2 separate regions of the Homo sapiens genome follow, and region 1 is linked to region 2. The links are contacts of gene promoters, found by promoter capture Hi-C in blood cells and fetal thymus (Javierre and others, 2016). All regions are on one chromosome and are shown on one strand. The core of a region is centred on a gene start or on the middle of the fragment in contact, and the rest is flanking DNA. Distances in the headings are between cores, read along the strand shown. Region 1 overlaps LOC124902678 (a long non-coding RNA gene). Region 2 holds the start of ZP1 (zona pellucida glycoprotein 1).

What was found. Contacts are between HindIII fragments. The CHiCAGO score rates a contact against its expected background, and 5 or more counts as called.
Region 1: a fragment that was not itself captured here is called in contact with the fragment with the promoter of ZP1 in region 2 in 7 of 17 cell types (total CD8 T cells, total CD4 T cells, non-activated CD4 T cells and 4 more); the score reaches 8.7 in total CD8 T cells.

Annotation. Positions count from the first base shown.
Region 1 is chr11:61,187,022-61,189,721 of GRCh38, reverse strand. All of the region lies in intron 2 of LOC124902678 (a long non-coding RNA gene), which reads right to left. Among named protein-coding and RNA genes, the nearest start is that of PGA3, 15 kb to the left of the region's middle. The HindIII fragment of the contact is 6,697 bases long and covers 1-2,700 here.
Region 2 is chr11:60,866,264-60,868,963 of GRCh38, reverse strand. It overlaps ZP1 (zona pellucida glycoprotein 1), which reads right to left and starts at 1,422. Exons shown (of 12, transcript NM_207341.4): 1 at 1,207-1,422. The coding sequence starts at 1,402. The HindIII fragment of the contact is 3,593 bases long and covers 151-2,700 here.

The DNA.
Region 1 (2,700 bases), core at 7-2,506, 320 kb before region 2:
GGAGTGTCAGGACGGTTGACATTTTAGACAGAGGGACCACAGAGGGCCCCACCCTGGAGGGGGCGTGTGAGTGGAGACTGGAAGGAGGTGAGGGAGGGAGAGTGCTTGTTACTCATGATTTGAGCTGTGCTTTTCTTTTCTTTCTTTTTATAGGCAAGTCAACTTTATTTTTTTGGTTTGCATTTTATCCTTTCCATTGTTTATCCATTACGTATCTACATACTTTTTTTTTTTGAGACAGAGTTTCGCTCTTGTCGCCTAGGCTGGAGTACAATGGTGCGATCTCAGCTCACTGCAACCCCCACCTCCCGGGTTCAAGCAATTCTCCTGCCTCAGCCTCTGGAGTAGCTGGGATTACAGGCTTCCGCCACCATACCCAGCTAATTTTTGTATTATTAGTAGAGACGGGGTTTTGCCATGTTGGCCAGGCTGGTCTCGAACTCCTAACCTCAGGCAATCCACCTGCCTTGGCATCCCAAAGTGCTGGGATTACAGGCGTGAGCCACTGTGCCCGGCTACGTTCTTATTATTAGATCTTGCTGGGTGCAGTGGCTCACTCCTGTAATCCCAGCACTTTGAGAGGCCAAGGTGGGAGGATTGCTTAAGCCCAGGAGTTCTAGACCAACTTGGGACACATAGCGAGACCCCCATCTCTACAAAAAATTTAAAAATTAATGGGGCATGGTGGTGTGTGCCTGTAGTTCCAGGTTCTTGGGAGGCTGAGGTGGAAGGGTGGCTTGAGTCCAGGAGGTTGTGGCTGCAGTGAACCGTGCAACTGCACTGCAGCCTGGGCAACAAGTGAGACCCTGTCTCAACAAGAAACAAATTTAAAAACTTTAAAAAGTAAATGAACAGGCCTTAAAGTAAAACATTGTCTACCTGGGAAATATTTTTAAATAGCCAAATATATGTGTCTAACCATTGGAAACATTTAAAAGTCATAATATTTATTTAGAAGATAATATTAATTGTAGACTTTCTTTAGGAAATATATTTATTGTAAAACTGTATTCTATAGTTCATATAACCTTTGTAATAAAAACTCAGGCAGCTAATTTTTCATTGCATTCTGTTCTGCACAAACATTTTTGCAATATATCAAAATTGTGTATTTGTAAAAATGGTCTGTGCTTTTCTTTAGACAGATGGGCAGATGTAGTCCACGCTCATCACTTTAAGAGCAAGGAGCAGGCCGGGAATGGTGGCTCACACCTGTAATCCCAGCACTTTGGGAGGCCAAGGCAGGCTTATCACGAGGTCAGGAGTTTGAGACCAACCTGGCCAACATAGTGAAACCCCATCTCTATTAAAAATACAAAAAATTAGCTGGGCATGGTGGTGGGTGCCTGTAATCCCAGCTACTTGGGAGGCTGAGGCAGGAGAGTCGCTTAAACCTGGGAGGCAGAGGTTGCAATGAGCTGAGATGGAGATCACGCCACTGCACTCCAGCCCAGGCGACAGTGCAAGACTCCGTCTCAAAAAAACAAAACAAAACAAAAAAACAAAAATTAGCCAGGCATGGTGGTGCGTGCCTGTAGTCCCAACTACTTAGGAGGCTGAGGCAGAAGAATCTCCTGAACACGGGAGCCAGAGGTTGCAGTGAGCCGAGATCGCGGACTGCACTCCGGCCTAGGCGACACAGCAAGGCCCTGTCTCAAAAAAAATAAATAAACAAAAGAAAAAGAGCCAGGAGCAGATTCTTTCCTATTGATAATTTCCCTGCTCTTAGAATCTGGGGTGCCTTCCATCTTTCACTGGTAATAGAGTCCCTGGGAAAATCTTTGTAGCTAATATATATTTTATAACTAATAATAATAAACATATATTTACTTATGTGAGATGTATTTCTCAAAATGGGATTCGCAGGTCTAAAGGTAGGAGAGTTCATATTACAGTGGTTTCATGTCGCTAAGTAACTGTTTAAGTAGATGGAACCAATGGGCGGGTCTAAGACCACCACATGTATGCATGTAATATCCGCCTTGGCCACTAGGCGTCAGTCCTCCACTGACAGTAGGCTTCCTGATGGCCTTTTTTCTCTGGGGAATAATTCACTCCAGCAGGAACCCAGGCAACCCCAGCAAAGATATAGCCTCCTCTCTATTGGGGGTCTTTCCCTCTCTTTTATAGAATAATGCTTAGCTTTCCCACCATCTTAAAAGCAATCACGGAAGAAACTCAGAAAAGTATAAGGAGAGAAAAAAATTGTCCATACAGTTGCCTTTTGGATAGAATGAGTGTTAAATCCTTTGGCTAACTGTTAACCTTTTGGTCTTTGTCTGGTGTTTAAAATAGAAATAGCTCGGCTGGGCGCAGTGGCTCACGCCTGTAATCCCAGCACTTCGGGAGGCTGAGGCGGGCGAATCACGAGGTCAGGAGATGGAGACCATCCTGGCTAACACGGTGAAACCCTGTCTCTACTAAAAAATATAAAAAATTAGCCGGGCGTGGTGGTGGCCGCCTGTAGTCCCAGCTACTCGGGAGGCTGAGGCAGGAGAATGGCGTGAACCCGGGAGGCGGAGCTTGCAGTGAGCCAAGATCGAGCCACTGCACTCCAGCCTGGGCGACAGAGCGAGACTCCGCTTCAAAATAAATAAATAAATAAAATAAAATAGAAATAGCTCATGCTACGAGGTGACAGGCATGTTCTAAATGTTTTATATGTTAAATTCATTGAGTCCTCACTGTAGTCCTAGAAGG
Region 2 (2,700 bases), core at 173-2,672:
TGTAAGGGGATGGGAGGGTCTTAGGATCTTTCTAGCTAGGGTTCCCTGCTCACAGCACACGGCAGCAGGCAGGCACGAAGATGAGGTGGAGAAGGGATACACAGGGTCTCAGGCACTGGCCTGAGTATTTCACATCACTTCTTTTAAGCTTAGTTATCCACATCCTGTGGCTGAGGCAGCTGAGGAAGGGAGGGTGCGTGAGCTTTCTTAGGTGCACACAATGAGGGGCAGAATGAGGATTTGAATCCTGGGCTTTGTAGAAAGATCTGAACCCATTTCCCAGGTTAACTGTGGCTGCTGCAGTTGCTTGGAGACACCCCCTAGGTGTCCACCCTGCTTGTTGCCCCAGAACAGCCTGGGCATTCCCTGGGTGTGGGCATGTCCCCATGCCCTTGTTCCATGAGCACGGCCAGGTTCATCTTCCCCACCTTGCAGATGAGGAAACAGAGGCTTATGAGTCAGGTCAGTTGTCCAAAATCATCCCGTTTAGAAGCTGCAGATCCAAACCCCAGTTCTAAACCCACACCAGGCCACGCCTACTAGGTCCTGCTGCTGGAAGTGGTTTATGGACCCTCAGCCTCAGTTTTGACTGAGCGTGGTTAGAGATGCAGAGCCTAGGCTGGGTGCAGTGGCTCACGCCTATAACCCCAGCACTTTGGGAGGCTGAGGCAGGTGGATCACCTGAGGTCAGGAGTTCGAGACCAGCCTGACCAATATCGTGAAACTCCATCTCTACTAAAAATACAAAAAGTAGCTGGGCGTGGTGGCACACACCTGTAGTCCCAGCTACTAAGAGGCTGAGGCAGGAGAATTGCTTGAACCTGGGTGGTGGAGGTTGCAGTGAGCTGAGATCGTGCCAACTGCACTCAAGCCTGGAGAACAGATTGAAAGAAGTGAGACTGTCTCAGAAAAAAAAAAAAAAAAGAAAAGAAATGCAGAGGCTTGGCCCTGCCCCAGGTCCACTGAATCAGAACCTGCACCTCAACAAGGTGGCCAGGTGTTTCCCATGCACACTAACGTGGGAGAAGCTGCCCTGGGTGATGATTCTCCTCCTTGCCCTTTTCTGTGGTGAGGGGGTGGGGGGCTGGACACCCCCAGGCTGGAGGGAGGCCTCTGTTCTTGCTCCTTCAGGGGAAGGGTCCCAGCTCCCTTCTGGCAGCAGCCCGTGGCCAGGGAGGCAGGGGCCAGGACTCTGCCAGCACTCACCCACCACCTTGAAGCGGAGAGTCTGGCCTGGCCTGGGGAACACCAGCAGCTGCATTCCCTTGATCCCACAGTCGTAGCTGTGCCGGAGGCCTGGGAGGCCAGGGTCGGGCTGGAGCCACCTACCCAGCCCCAGGGTGGCAACCAGCAGTAGCAGGGCCACAGGGTAACCCCAGGTCGTGGCTGAGCCTCCTGCCATGAGACGCCACAGACACACCCCCTACTCCCTCGCCACCAGAGCTGGGCCCAGGCCTTTTATGGAGGAGGTGGCAAGTGGGTGCCTGTAAGGGCAAAGGGGGCCCACCTGGAGGAGCACCCACCTGGCCACCAGGGGCTGTGGTGAAACTCCTGTTCCAAAGGCAGCGGGAGGCAGAAAGCTGCACGTGGCCCCTCACCCTGGCTTTCTGTCTCACAGCTGTGGCTTTGGAAGGGAGGAGGGAGCTTTCCAGAAAACTGAGGTTGCAGATGGGCTGTGGGAAGGGATCCAGGGCTAGGAGGTGGCACTGCAGACCTCAGGCCCTCCACTGTCTCCCTCTCACCCCAGCCTTTCTGCATTCCCTTCCTGCCCCAACAGGCTCTCCAGGTCCTCCTTCCTGCCTTGAGGCCTCAGGACCACTGGGAGCTGCCGGCCTGGTTAGTACAGTCACAGCTCCTCAGGCAGGGCTTTAGGGGCATTAGAGCAAGACCAGGAAGACACAGCCCTCAGAGCTGGCAGCGGAATGGGGACTGCAGGTGAGTAAACAGACCAGTAGCACCTCCAAGGGCTCTCCTGAGGATTCAGCCGGTCAGTATGATGATGACTATGACTAATAAAAAATAACAAGGACAACTAAATGTAATGTGGCATCTGGATGGGATCGTGGAACAGAAAAAGGCAGTAAAAGTGAAGAAAGTGGATTTTAGTTAATAATAATGTGTCCACATTTGTTTGTTCATTAATTGTAATAAATGTATCATACTCAAGTAAGATCAGTTATGGGGTAAACTGGGCCTGCGGTGTATGGGAACTGTCTGTACTATCTTCTCAGTTCTGTAAATCTAGAACAGTTCTAAGACATAAAAGTGGCTGGAAACAACAAGAATGGCCTGTGGTCTGCCATGATTACAGTGCCAGGTCTTGCTTGTGTTAGATCCTTATACCGCCTGACCATCCTCTGAGGAAGGGACTGTCACCAGCCCCACGTCCTGGCACTAATTCCTGCAAGTGATTAGCCTAGGGCCCAGCAGCGTTTGAGCTCAGCAAACATTAGAAAATGCAGCTATTATAATTAGCAGCTGCTGGAAGGGGAGAGCAAGAGGCTTGATAGCTAAGAGCCCGGTTCTGGTGAGGTTGCAGAGAAAAAGGAATGCTTATACGCTCTTGGTGGGGGTGTAAATTGGTTTGACCACTGTGGGAGTGTGGTGATTCCTCAAAGAGCTGAAAACAGAACTATCATTTGATGCAGAAATCGCATTACTGGGTATATATCCAAAGGAATATAAATTGTTCTATCATAA